Regions from separate parts of the Homo sapiens genome. Here region 2 is linked to region 1. The links are contacts of gene promoters, found by promoter capture Hi-C in human tissues and cell types (Jung and others, 2019). All regions are on one chromosome and are shown on one strand. The core of a region is centred on a gene start or on the middle of the fragment in contact, and the rest is flanking DNA. Distances in the headings are between cores, read along the strand shown.

Region 1 (6,975 bases), core at 4,476-6,975:
TTGATGGAGAAACTCTGGTTTATCTTATAAACTTCAAGGCAGAACAGCAAGAGGCCATGGTGGAGAAGCAACTGTCCAGTAGCATAACCATTACAACCTGCAGGAAGTAAAATTGCTGAGGTGTGATGGATGCTTATTCTGCACCAGGTCCTGCATTCATACCACACTTAACTCTCACAGCAACCTTAAGAGGGAGGTACCATACTGTTACCATTTTGCAAATGAGGATGCAGGCTCAGCAAAGGTAGAAAAGTTGCCCAAAGTCACATATATAGAAAGTAGTGGAGCTATTGGTCTGACTCCTCATCCTATGTTAATTACTGGATACACAGACTAGGGTAGAAATTATTGGCTACTAGCTGGACTTTGAAAAAAGAACCTTAAAACTGTAAGATGGTAGGTCTTTAAGCAATTCGTAGGCTAATGCCCAGAGTCAGAGATAAGGTTGTTTGCTTACTTTGATATGGAATGGTTTGTAATATTTCAACACTGGAGTATAGTATATGAAGAACAATTACATGTTGATTGATGTAGCTAAGATACCAATTAGAGTCTAAGAGCACATGCAGGCATGTCTGACAAACTGGGAGGGCAAGTAATCCAAACACTCTGAAGACCATTTGCCTGAAGACCTCGGGGTATCTTATGAGATAACTCATATTAAGAGAAGGAGTGGAACATAAGCTTGACTCAGTACAACAGTTTTGGTCATTATTATAGACTGGTTCTCACAAAAGCATTGACTCTGACTTTCAGATTGCTTCCATAGCACAGCCCCACACTAAACGGTGTAGTTTTCAAAACCTGAAAGAATAGTTTTAATAAAACTCAGTAACTCAGTCCAACACTGGGGTAGAACAGCACTATCTTGAAAGCCCTCTAACCTGTAACTCAAACAGAAAACATTCTGCCGCCAGTTTCTTTGCTAAAACATAGCAAGAGTCCAGTTTCCAACAAGTTCCTCATCTCCATCTGAGACCACCTCAGCCTGGATTTCATTGTCCATATCACTATTAGCCTTTTGATCAAAGCCATTCAACAAGTCTCTAGGAAGTTCCAAAATTTCCCACATTTTCCTGTCTTCTGAGCCCTCCAAACTATTCCAACCCCTGCCTGTTACCCGGTTCCAAAGTTGCTTCCACATTTTCAGGTATCTTTTCAGCAGCGCCCCACTCTACTGGTGCCAATTTACTGTATTAGTCCATTTTCACGCTGCTGATAAACACATACCCAAGAATGGGCAATTTACAAAAGACAGAGGTTTACTGGACTTAGAGCTCCCCGTGGCTTGGGAGGCCTCAAAGGCTGTCTTGAATGGCGGCAGACAAGAGAAAAGAGCTTACGCACGGAAACTTCCGTTTTTAAAACCATCAGATCTCATGAGACTTACTCACTATCACGAGAACAGCAGAGGAAAGACCTGCTCCCATGATTCAGTTACCTCCCACCAGGTTCGTCCAATGACACGTGGGAATTGTGGGAGCTACAATGCAAGATGAGATTTGGGTGAGGACACAGCCAAACCATATCAAAGCCCAACGGCTCTGCAGAAGAAATGCAAGAGGACCATGCGTCCCTTGAAAAATTATGAAATTTAGCATGGAGATGCAAATGTACATATTTCTGAGGAGACAGTCTTGTTTTTGTCAGCATCTCAAAACATTATGTAACTTAAAAATGTTTAGAAACAATTGTTGGAATTTTGATTTTTATGTATTCTAAAGCCAAATAAATGTGAGGAAAAGTATATTTCAGTGCATACATATTACCGGGGATACTCACAAACTGTGGGCATAAATTGGGTCACATTAATAGTACATTCTGATTCTTGAATCCTCACTTGAACCAGGATTTGTAGAAGCTCTAATTTTTTTTTTTTACTATTTCATTAATTTTTGAGAGGAATTATTTCTCATGTCCAAATAGAGTTAATCCTTGAGAGTTTGACCTCATATTCAAAAGATGAAGGTAAATGTTATGGTTTTACACCTCATGGTTCAAATGAAATGTAGAAGGGACTTACTTACTAAGCCAATTTGAGGTGCGCTTTACTGGGTACCGTGTATAAAGGGTGGAAGTTTCTGAGGCTGATTTTGACACGTACTCTTTGCTCCCACCTCTTTCCTTCAGGTTAGGGAATGTTTTTGTTTTTACAGCTTCAAGCCTTTTTTTTTTCCTTATTCTTGTGTTATTGTTTTTATTTTGTACCATTTTATTGGTTTGGTTGGTTTTTTAGCTGTTTTGGTTTTTACAGTTTTTACACATGGTATATGAATGTGTAGGGCCACAGGTTGATTTTCATTCACTTTTTTATTAGAAAGCTTTTTCTTAATGTTTATTCTACTTGACCTGTTGCTTTTCTGTATTTTAATATTAATTTATAGATAGTGTACATTAAGGGAGATCAATTTTCTTCATTTTAAGAAATCCAGATACTTCAGATCCTACTTCTTTATGTACTCAGATGACAAAAATCCATTTTCTAAGGTCACAGAGTTCCTGAATAGAAGCGTCTAAAGAGAAATCTCTCAAGATCAGCACCTTGAAGTGGGCAGACACACTGGCACACTTGGACTCCCATCTCTCTCTCTCTCTTTTTTTTTTTTTTTCTGAGATAGAGTTTCACTCTTGTTGCCCAGGCTGGAGTGTAGTGGCAGGACCTTGGCTCATTGCAACCTCCGCCTTCTGGTTTCAAGCGATTCTCCTGCCTCAGCCTCCCAAATAGCTGGGATTACAGGCGACCTCCACCACTCCTGGCTAATTTTTGTATTTTTAGTAGAGACAGGGTTTCACCATGTTGGCCAGGCTGGTCTCAAACTCCTGACCTCATGATCCACCTGCCTCAGCCTCCCAAAGTGCTGGGATTACAGGTGTGAGCCACCACGCCCGGCCCCCTCCCATCTCTTTTATCATGTTTCTGATGCTCTCCATGGGCTGGGGATTGCTAAGGTGGTAAGGGTGTTGTAAAATTCTGCAGTGGGGAAGAACTGCACTTATTTAATATTTGCTCAAAATGTCGCTCTTTGAGCTGACTTGGGAAGTGACTTTGCCTGCTTCCAAAATGACAGTTATGACCTTATAAAGTTCCCCAGGAATTTGAGAGCCAAATTTAATTATATTTTCTCTGCAATGTACTCAGTACCCAAGGCTGCAGCTGCAGAAAGCTAAAAAATAAAAGGAATAAAATAAAAAGGAATGGGTGGGGGATTGAACCAATCAGTTTATTGCCATAAACTCTCTCCTAAAAAAGTCTCTACAGTATTCACAAGCATATTAATCTAATGCGGGAGTTGATCTTACCTGAACATATTACAGCAAAGTAATATGGTATCTGACAGATGGTATTTGACAGATGGTATCTGTCAAACTCATAATGACATCATTGGGAATTATTCTGAATTTTAAATCCAGAAGATAACTTTTTAAAAAGACAGTTCACAGAGATTGATGTAATTGCTTCCTGTTAGTAGGTTAGGCTTCATCTTTGATGGAGAAGAGGACATCGAAGTGTTATATATTTTCCCATGTAGTCATAATGCTAAACAGCAAATTAAAATATCTGAATCTCAGTTCTGGCCTTGCCACAGTCTAGCTAGGCAATGTGGGGCAAGTCATTTAATGTGTCTTCACATTTCTGAAAATGAAAGCTGAATGATATCTTTTTTTCTGGCTATATAACATTTACAAATCCTAAAATGTCAGTGATGGGAGCCCATATTCTTTTCTGAAATCTCATCTTGCCTACCTTGAGGGAGAACTCATGGGGTGCTGAAGACACAGGGCTCTGCAGAGTGTTGGATAAGTGTTTTCTCTGCTCTTCTAATTAGGTCAAATGGCTCCTCTAGCTGGCATCAGATTAGCTGTGTTAGTGACATTCACACTGGTCCAGATAAGGATGCAGACTTACCTCTTCACACCCATGCAACCAGCCCAAAGTGGAGGAGGCTGAGTCATGTGGGAAGATATGTTCTGACAGACTTATCTTTCTGGTTTCAGCATCTGGCTCCTTCACCCACCACATTCCAAAAGTCTGCATATTGGTGTGGCTGCTGTTAGCTCAACCCTGAAGAATTGATGTAATAGAGAAATATTTCACTTTAAGTAATATTTTTTTAACTTTTAACACATTCTTTACTTAAAACGACAAATAAATCAACCCTCCTGACCTGCTCAATCATTAGTATGCTAAGGGATTGTTCACATTTGCCTCACATTCAGTTGAACTGAGACATTTAGTTCATGAAAATAACTAGGCTGCAACCCATTATTTTAAACAATAGCTTTGTAGATTCTGGATATTATCCCTTAAACAACCCCATCAAAAAGTGGGCGAAGGATATGAACAGACACTTCTCAAAAGAAGACACTTATGCAGCCAACAGACACATGAAAAAATGCTCATCATCACTGGCCATCAGAGAAATGCAAATCAAAACCACAATGAGATATCATCTCACACCAGTTAGAATGGGGATCATTAAAAAGTCAGGAAACAACAGGTGCTGGAGAGGATGTGGAGAAATAGGAACACTTACACTGTTGGTGGGACTGTAAACTAGTTCAACCATTGTGGAAGACAGTGTGGCGATTCCTCAGGGATCTAGAACTAGAAATACCATTTGACCCAGCCATCCCATTACTGGGTATATACCCAAAGGAATATAAATCGTGCTGCTATAAAGACACATGCACATGTATGTTTATTGCAGCACTGTTCACAATAGCAAAGACTTGGAACCAACTCAAGTGTCCAACAATGATAGACTGGATTAAGAAAATGTGGCACCTATACACCATGGAATACTATGCAGCCATAAAAAAGGAAGCATTCATGTCCTTTGTAGGGACATGGATGAAGCTGGAAACCATCATTCTCAGCAGACTATCACAAGGACAAAAAGCCAAACACTGCATGTTCTCACTCATAGGTGGGAATTGAACAATGAGAACACTTGGACACAGGAAGGGGAATATCACACACCGGGGTCTGTCGTGGGGTGGGGGAAGTGGGGAGGGATAGCATTAGGAGATATACCTAATGTAAATGACAAGTTAATGGGTGCAGCACACCAACATGGCACTTATATACTTACATAACAAACCTGCACGTTGTGCACATGTACCCTAGAACTTAAAATATAATAAATATATATAAAAAACTAAAATACACAATAGCTGATGATTTATTTACTAGATAATCCATCTAGTCATATCCCAGTGATTAACTAGTGATTACAACTTAAAATAAAAATTTTGTGTATATCTATTTAATTGAACTAGACGAAATGGGCTAAACATGGAAGATTCATTTTCTTCTAATCAATGTTCTCACCCATCCCTAAAAGTAGAAAATGTCCATAAAATTTTAGATATTTTAAATAAAAGCACTTATCACAACACTTATCTTTAACCAAAAAACAGTGATCATTGAAGACCCAGAATATGACTATAGAAACTTTCAGTGCTTTCTGTAGACTCCATCTTTTGCTATCTATCAAAGAAAGATAAAATCTAGGAGTGGAAGGAAAGAGGTTCCCTACACTCCTTATTACCTGGTGATAAAGTACAGGGGTTTTAATAGGCTGTATCAAATGCACAAAATTCCAGGTCACATCAAAGAAAGTTCTACACACCTGGAAGTTGAAGGATTAGGGATTACAAGTTGTGTGAGGGAGGAATGGGAGGAGTCAGATAGTATTGGGACATCCTAGGCAATGTTTCCAGCCTACTTTGTGTTCTTTCCCTACCAACTAAGCTTGCCTAATTTGCTTCAGAATTGGAAGAGGGAATTGCAGCAGGAAAATATGTGAAGAGTTTTTAAACCCACAAATTCTTCTTACTTTAGAATTAGTTGTTACATTGGCAGGAAAAAATAAATGCAGATGTTGGACCATGTTGGAAACCTTGTCAAGACAGTGGATTGTCTCACACAGAATGGAAATGTGGCTTCTGATTCTGGTGGCGTATATGTTCCAGAGAAATGTGAATTCAGTACATATGCCAACTAAAGCTGTGGACCCAGAAGCATTCATGAATATTGTAAGTTGGGATTTCTGGGAAATGAGGTACTTAACATGTTAACGTTTGTATCTGTGTATTATTTACATTATGTATTATATTTATACATGGTGGTGATTCATACTAGAAGAGCATAGTGATGAAGTAGCAAATTGTACTGGAAAGAATGCTAAACTGGATGTCAGTAGACCTGGGGTCTCCTCACACAAATTTAGTAAACTTGGGCAAATGACTTAATCTCTTTGAGCTTCAAACACAATTTAACTTTTCCTTGAACACTTTGGTTCATCCTATGAGTGGAGAAGTAATTAAGGCCTTTTAAGTTCACCCCAGTCCCTTGATTATTTCCATTTTGTCTGTACCTTTTATTCTTTTATTCTTTTTTTCCATATTGCAAAGGTGTCAGCCTTTGCTTCTTGCTATCAGGGCACACACTTCTAGTAGCATCTTATACCATTCTAATCTACTCTTTTTATCCTGTTTCTGGACTGGTACTTTGCTGAATAGCAATAAAAGGACCCCGAGTTAGTGCTACACAGAACCTCCTACAAGTAAAATGCATAAATGACAGTACATCTCTTTAGTTTTCCCAGGAGGTTTTTTTTTTTTTTTTTTTTGGTAGCTTTTCAAATTCTAAGCTGGGTTTTAGTAATGGTCACCCTATGGTAACACTTATCCCATAGCAGGGATTATGACACAAGCAGAGATACTATTCTATTTCAATTTCATTGCCCTGTGCAGTAGATAGGATCATTCACATATTTCAAATCTAGATACTGAGATTAAAGAGGTTAAACAAGTTGAACAAGGCCATACCAATGTAATAGCATAGCTACTATTTAAATTCAGGACTGCCTAAACACAAAGTCTATAATTATAAATACTACGCAATAAACCCTCCCAGGTGAGAAAGAGGAGAGGCTACCTCCAGATGAGTAAGACGATCATGTGCAATGT
Region 2 (6,685 bases), core at 3,646-6,145, 1.2 Mb before region 1:
CAGCTGATCTGGAGGATCAACTCAAGATTGTCAAGCACCAGCGGTTACTCTCCCACCAAGAAGCATTTTCCCTGCCTAACTCCCACCGTGTTACTACTGCCTTAAGACATTTCGCAAGCTCCCTTTCAGGGGTGGAGATGTCCCACACAGCCACGTCTTTTGTGACCTCAGCCCTTCCTTTCTGCCCAGCCTTCCCTCCCGCCTCTCCCTCACCTCCCACTTTGTGTTTCTGAGGTAATTCCCTGAAGCACTTGTGATTTCCCACACTGGGCAGGTTTTTTTCCCGGCTGCTGTGCCTCTGTACACAGGCTCCATCTGCCATGCTGCCCTTTGCCCCTGTCCATTTGCAGAGTCTTGTTTACCCTTCCAAATCCAGCTCATGGGGCATATGCTTTGTGAAGTGTCTTCTGTTTGCTCAGGCCCAGAATACCCCCAGTTTTCCCTGTTGCCTCTGTATGATTCTATTATTGTGTGGATTATACAGAATTCAGTGATTCATACAGAGGTCCATCCTTCCCACTGCACTGTGAGCACCATGAGGACAGACATAGAGTGTGATCTGTCTCTATCTCAGCATCCAGCTCAAAGCCTAAACCAGGCACCCAGGCACCTGCCAAAGAGGTTCTCACAGCCAGGCATGGTGGCTCATGCCTATAATCCCCACGCTTTGGGAGGGCAAGGTAAGAGGATCGCTTGAGACCAGGAGTTCGAGACCAGTCTGGGTAACATAGTGAGACCCCATGTCTAAAAAAATTGTTTTTTAATTAGCCAGGTTCCCACTTGAGTCCAGGAGTTGGGGCAGCAGTGAACCCTGATCATGTCACTGCACTCCATCCTGGGCAACAGAGTAAAGATCCTGTCTCAAAAAAAAAAAAAAAAAAAAAAAAAAAAAAAAGAAAGAAAGAAAGAAAGAAAAAGAAAAGGAAGAAAAGAAAAGAAAGAGGTTCTCAGGCTTCTCATTGGGATGCCGATGTGCTGCTCTTCTCAGGAGAGTTTCAAATGGCAACTTCAGCTTTCTAAAACCCCTACGTTCTGAATATACCTGTGTTTCTGCACAGCATACGTTTTGAAACAGCCTAGGAAATATATTGGAGATTTATGTATTGGCAAGTATCTGATGTCAACCTCACTCATACCAGCTACCCACAGTGTGTACAGAAACACCCTGAGCAACATTCTTCGGCTGCTTCGGGCGGAGTGAAGTGCATAAAAAGCAAGTCAACAGTTGGACAAGGCTCTCTTGGTTCCTCTTGTCCTGAGGTCTCAGCAACAAGTCAAGCTGTTATAAAGCCCTTTTCAAAATTGTTTTGTCAGTTGCACACTAGAGATTCATTTCATGGAGTTCTGTTAAAGTATCTGACACACAGATTTGTATGTGTACTGGGGGAGTGTGAGGGGAAAATATAACAGGTTTCTTTAGCCCAATTTTTTTTTAATACAACCCTTTTTCATGTTCCCCTGAAACAAACTACAATGGCCAATTTCAAATCAGTTTCCAGACTCTCTAACCATAACATGGAATTTCACACTGCCAGTAAATGCTGAAAGGCTGTATTTCAAGCTGAAGTTCATTGCAAACAACACCCCACCCACTAAGAATGAGCTTCTTTTTAAAAAATTTTAAGCCACCAGAATGAGTCTTTGACTGTTTAGGAAGGTTGGGATCAAAAACAGAATGGCCAATATAATAACGTAATGGAGAATAATTCAATTAAATGCAATCTTGCTGGATTAGTAAATTTTGTGTCATTTCACCTGTGTTTAATTCCTGAAAAATACAATTCCACAAGCATTTATTTGGCGATGTGTTTGCGCGAGGCACAGAGCTGGTTGATCAGAGGAAGCTCGGTGAGATCCATCCCTGCTCTCAAGGAGCCTGCTGTGTACAATGCCACCGCCTCTGCAAACTTACCAAGCTTATCCCAGCAAATTTCTCCTTCCCTTGGCTTATGTTATAGTGGACCATGAGGTGCCCAAAGCCCCTCTGGAATTTGCAGTTCCAAGAACAAATAGTTATTTCCTTTTTTGCTTAAGTCAATTTAGTAATTGTCATTCAAAACCAGATGAACGCCTTGAAGAATAGCAGAATTTCAACAGGTAGAGATGGGGGAGAATATCATTGTAGAAAATGGAAACAGTGTGGATCAAGGTAGAGTGGATCTCGTGCAGGGTCCCCTTGGTGAACAGTGGCCATGTCCGCAACACTGGGTGCATTGGGACAGGTAAATGGAGAGGAGATAGGGTTCAAAATACAGCTTGTGAGTCATATGCTAAGAGACTTGGCTGTCTCCTTAAAGAATTGTGGGGAGAAGGCAGAGAGCGATGTAAGGGTTTGGGCAAGGATGTGCATGGCTTGATTCATGCTTGGGGTCAGTGGCTCTGGGGACAGGCAGTGTAATGGATGGATTTAAAGTAAGAGCGAGTGAAGGCACAGAGTTCTCTTGGTGTTTATAACTTTTCTTCTTAATACCTTACTCTTTAGATTTTATGATATGTTACAGATGTACAAGTTGTGTATTCATGCCTTGCTTCCTCTCTCAGGAGATAGGCTTTCTGGCTCAGTGAAATTATTCCCTCTCCTGTCTGCATTAGGAAGGTAGCCCCTACAATTATAATGCATGTTACTTCTTGTATGCAGCTAACTTGAGTTTTTTGCCCCTTCTAGTAAAGGTTAAGTGTGTGCTGTAAAATCTTGACCTATGTGGCCTAAAATTGCAAAGTGATCTTTTGTCTCAAAATGTGAACTCCTTGATCTAGCAATTCCATTGATGAGAATTTGTCCAAGGGAAATAGGATGGACACAAAGATTTGTCTGTAAAAACATTCATCTCTGAATAAGAATTTTAAAACTTGGAAGCAGCCTATAACAATGGTGTTAAATTTAGGAAGCAGATTACAAAACAAAGTGATTCTATTTTATTTATTTATTTATTTATTTATTTATTTATTTATTTATTTAGAGACAGAGTCTTGCTCTGTTGCTCAGGCTGGAGTGCAGTGGCATGACCACAGTTCACTGCAGCCTCAACCTCCTGGGCTCAATCAGTTCTCCCACCTCAGCCTCCCAAGTAGCTGGGACTACAGGCATATACCACAATGCCCAGCAATTTTTTTTTTTTTTTTTTTTTTTTTTCGTAGAGACAGAGTTTTGCCATGTTGCCTAGGCTGGTCTCAAACTTCTGGGCCCAAACAATCTTTCTGCCTTGGCCTCCCAAAGTGCTGAGATTACAAATGTGAGTTATCATGCCCAGACTGATTCTATTTTTTTTAAAAAAAGAAAATTAATAAAGAATTCACGAAGGAAGAGTCTAAGGATATTGACCAAACTTGTGTGGGTATTTTTATTTCATTCTTTGGCTTTTAAAATATTTTATAAATTTTCTTCAATGAATACATAGAAATGAATATCAAATAAATGAATATTGAAAAAAATTGTTGGTAATCAGGAAAAGATGCCATTTAATTACTTTAATGCAAGAGGGGTAGAGTGCAGTTCAGAACCATTGTTAGTTACGTTCCATCTCTTGGGTAAATCTAGGCTTCAGAGTCTCCTTTCGAATAGGGTGATTACTGCAGATAAACTCAAAGATCCTCTACAACTCTAATGTCTTACCACATTATTATGCCTCTCTGTGTCCTGTAGCACCAGGTATGAACCTCATCATAGCAGCCATCACAAGGTGAGTCATTCTCAGTTATGTGTTTGCTTCTCCAATGGACTGGAGCACCTTGGGGGCAGAAACAGTCTTGTAGCTCTTCTCTTTGACACGAGCATCTGGTTTCGAGTGACAAAAAGGAAATTACTATTCATTCTTGGAACTACCAAGTCCAGAAATAGATCTATTTCAGATGTAGCTGGATCTAGTGTCCAAATGATTCTACCCAGAGTCTGTCTCTCTCAGCTCTATGTTGGTTTCTGTTGGCCTCTGTCAGGCTGCTGGCAGCCTCAAGCTCAAATTCTTACAACTTCTGTCTCCACTGGGGGAGAGAGATTAATCTTCTCAGTAGTTCCACAGAAGTCCCAGGATTGCTTTTCTTTGTGTTCCATGCACAGCACAGTGGCCAGGGGCTTAGCATATGCCAGATACGCCTCCTGTGGCTGGTAGGAGTCATGCGGGGAGGGATGCAAGGCTGGTCTCTCCTAAAACAGCCACATGCACCAAGAGTAGGACTGGTGGTTTCCCAAAGGACAATCAAGATGCTGTCACCAGAAAAGGGGGAAACGAATTCTGGGCGAGAAAATAACAGTGAAATCTCCACTTGTGCCCCCAGCCCCTTGAACCACGCTGGGCATCAACTGGGTAGGGCCTCAGTGAAGCTTGTAGAATGAGTGAAGGGTCAATGCAAACTGTCACTACCCCCATCCCATAGAGAAACTTAAATCTCACTCGATTCTGATTACCCAGGTACAGCCTGACTTATGATTTCTATGATTATAAATTCTGGCTCCTAGTTTTTCAAATACTTGGCTTAATCTCAGCTACTTACAAAAATTTGAGGTTATTTTTATAAAGTCATTTTTATAAAGCCATTTGCCTCTTCAGCCTTTATACACATTCATTTTCTTAGAGTCAAGTAAGAATTTCTGTTGGATTAATATACACGAACATGACCATTGTAACTCTCAGTTCCAATCCAGGCACTGTCATTAACTGATTTATGCTTTGTCTTTGAAAGACTGTTGAAATATTTCTCTTTATAGTATGTGGGAAATAGTCCAACTCAAATACAGGTTATTTTACTTCATAATTGTAAAACTCTCTTGCCAGAGAAGCAAAGCAAAGAGCAGTAGGGATTCTAGTATTCAACACTCCACTTTAATGCAGGATTTTTCCTAGTGATTAAATTTCTATATTATGATTTTTAAAGATTTAATACAAGCATATGTAAAAAAATTAAATAGTACATAAGAGTATATAATGAACAATAAGTCTTTCTTCTATCCTTGATCCCCTTTCATGGAGGCAACTACTGCCAATCATTTTTTATGTATCTTTCCAGAGATATACAATGCAAACATAAGCATATTTAAAATTTGCAAATATAACATGTACTTATCGCCATAGCTCCTTTTTCTTTTTACATAAATGGTAAGAGCAATGCACCTGTTATGCATTTGTTCTACTGAACATTATATCTCAGAGAGTGTTCCATATTAGAACAAACAGCTCTACCTTGTTCTTTTTAATGACTGCATAGAATTCTAATATAAGGATATACTATAATTTTCCTAACCACTCCTCTACTGATGGATATTTAAGTCGTTGAGTTGAGCACTCCAGCCTGGGCAACAGAGCAAGACTCCATCTCAAAAAAAAAAAAAAAAAAAAAGACATCACTGAGGAACTTACCAAAGTAAAGTAAGAGTAAGACAAAATAAGATTTTAAGAGTAAACAAAAATAAAGACGTCTGGCGTGACAATTGGGATTTGTGCATCAAATGAGAGGCTCAGGGGAAGGCCTAGGCTGACTTCCAGAACAATGACTGTTTAGCCTAAAGCTAAACTTAATTTTCATTTTTAAGTTCAGCCTAAAGTTTTCTTGTGCATAATGAATTGCAATCTAACTGGATGTGTGAACATACTGTAACCTACTCTTGTGCCAGTCCCTGAGTTTTGACCAATCAAAGGCAGCCAAGTGTTCAAACTGTGTTCAAATAGGCAAATGCCAAGTTGTAGCCAATCCAGCTGTTTCTGTACCTCACTTCCATTTTCTATATGTCACTTTCCTTTTTCTGTCCATAAATCTTCAACCATATGGCTGCTGCTGGAGATCCTCTGAACCTGTTTTGTTTTGGGGGCTGCCCAATTCACAAATCACTCTTTGCTTAATTAAACTTTGTTAAATTTAGTTTGTCTAAATTTAGATGGTGTCAAAAGTAGAATTTGAAGTAGAGATTCCAGTGTCTCCCAGGAGCACCAAGGGACCAAGCAGGGACCTGCCGAGCCCCATTGTGTCCATTGCTAAATCACGGCAACCGGGGATCATAAGTTCTCTCTTGGATTCCAGAGCTCCACGGATTTGTGTTTTGAGCTATCTGAGGTTGAGCACATTTTTTATCTGAACTAGATTCAGAAGTCATGACAAAAGCTGGTCTGGGTCAGGCACTGAACTGGATCCAATAATTAACTGACTTGGATCCAGTTAGAGGCCTCGGATGCCTGAGGGGGTCAGGCAGAAACTGGCAGTAGATGGCAAAACTGCAGGGGTGCAAACTTTAGCTTTTGGAAATTTGCAGATATTTTTGTGTTCTACCCCCTTTCTTTTTCTTGCACACTTTAAGTAGGGAGAAATCATTGACTAAGTTGATTAAGAGAATATGAGAACCAAAGCCAAGATTCAAGGTAAAAATGAGATCCTTAATTTCTTCAGAAATTCAGAAATTAAGGAATCTACCTTCCAACTATGCCTACATTTACATGTATGAATATTAGGTCCCAGAAGCAGTAAATGCTATAGAAATGGCAAAATCTTACCAAAGATAATTTAACATTACAATGGAACATTCCAGATGGACAACACTGCACTTTAAGAAATACATTTGATGATGGCCACAAAGAGCTGTTAAAAAACAAAAAATTGAATTTGAAAATGAGGGCTCCCGAATTAGAGTCATCCAATGATGCCTATTAATGTGAAGCTTCTAAAAAGATTTCAATGTTTTTATTGCTTTCAAAGAAAATAC

Evidence for each region. The method cuts DNA at HindIII sites, captures the fragments that hold promoters and counts their contacts. A contact is called where the count stands out against the background at its distance.
Region 2: a contact is called between a fragment that was not itself captured here and the fragment with the promoter of LIPM in region 1, in 1 of the 25 tissues and cell types used here (mesenchymal stem cells).

The regions. Positions count from the first base shown.
Region 1 is chr10:88,797,005-88,803,979 of GRCh38, forward strand. It overlaps LIPM (lipase family member M), which reads left to right and starts at 5,726. Exons shown (of 9, transcript NM_001128215.1): 1 at 5,726-6,039. The coding sequence starts at 5,893. The HindIII fragment of the contact is 4,906 bases long and covers 1,503-6,408 here.
Region 2 is chr10:87,618,706-87,625,390 of GRCh38, forward strand. No RefSeq gene overlaps it. Among named protein-coding and RNA genes, the nearest start is that of PAPSS2, 38 kb to the right of the region's middle. RefSeq lists enhancers at 3,733-3,832, 3,873-3,922. The HindIII fragment of the contact is 3,557 bases long and covers 3,118-6,674 here.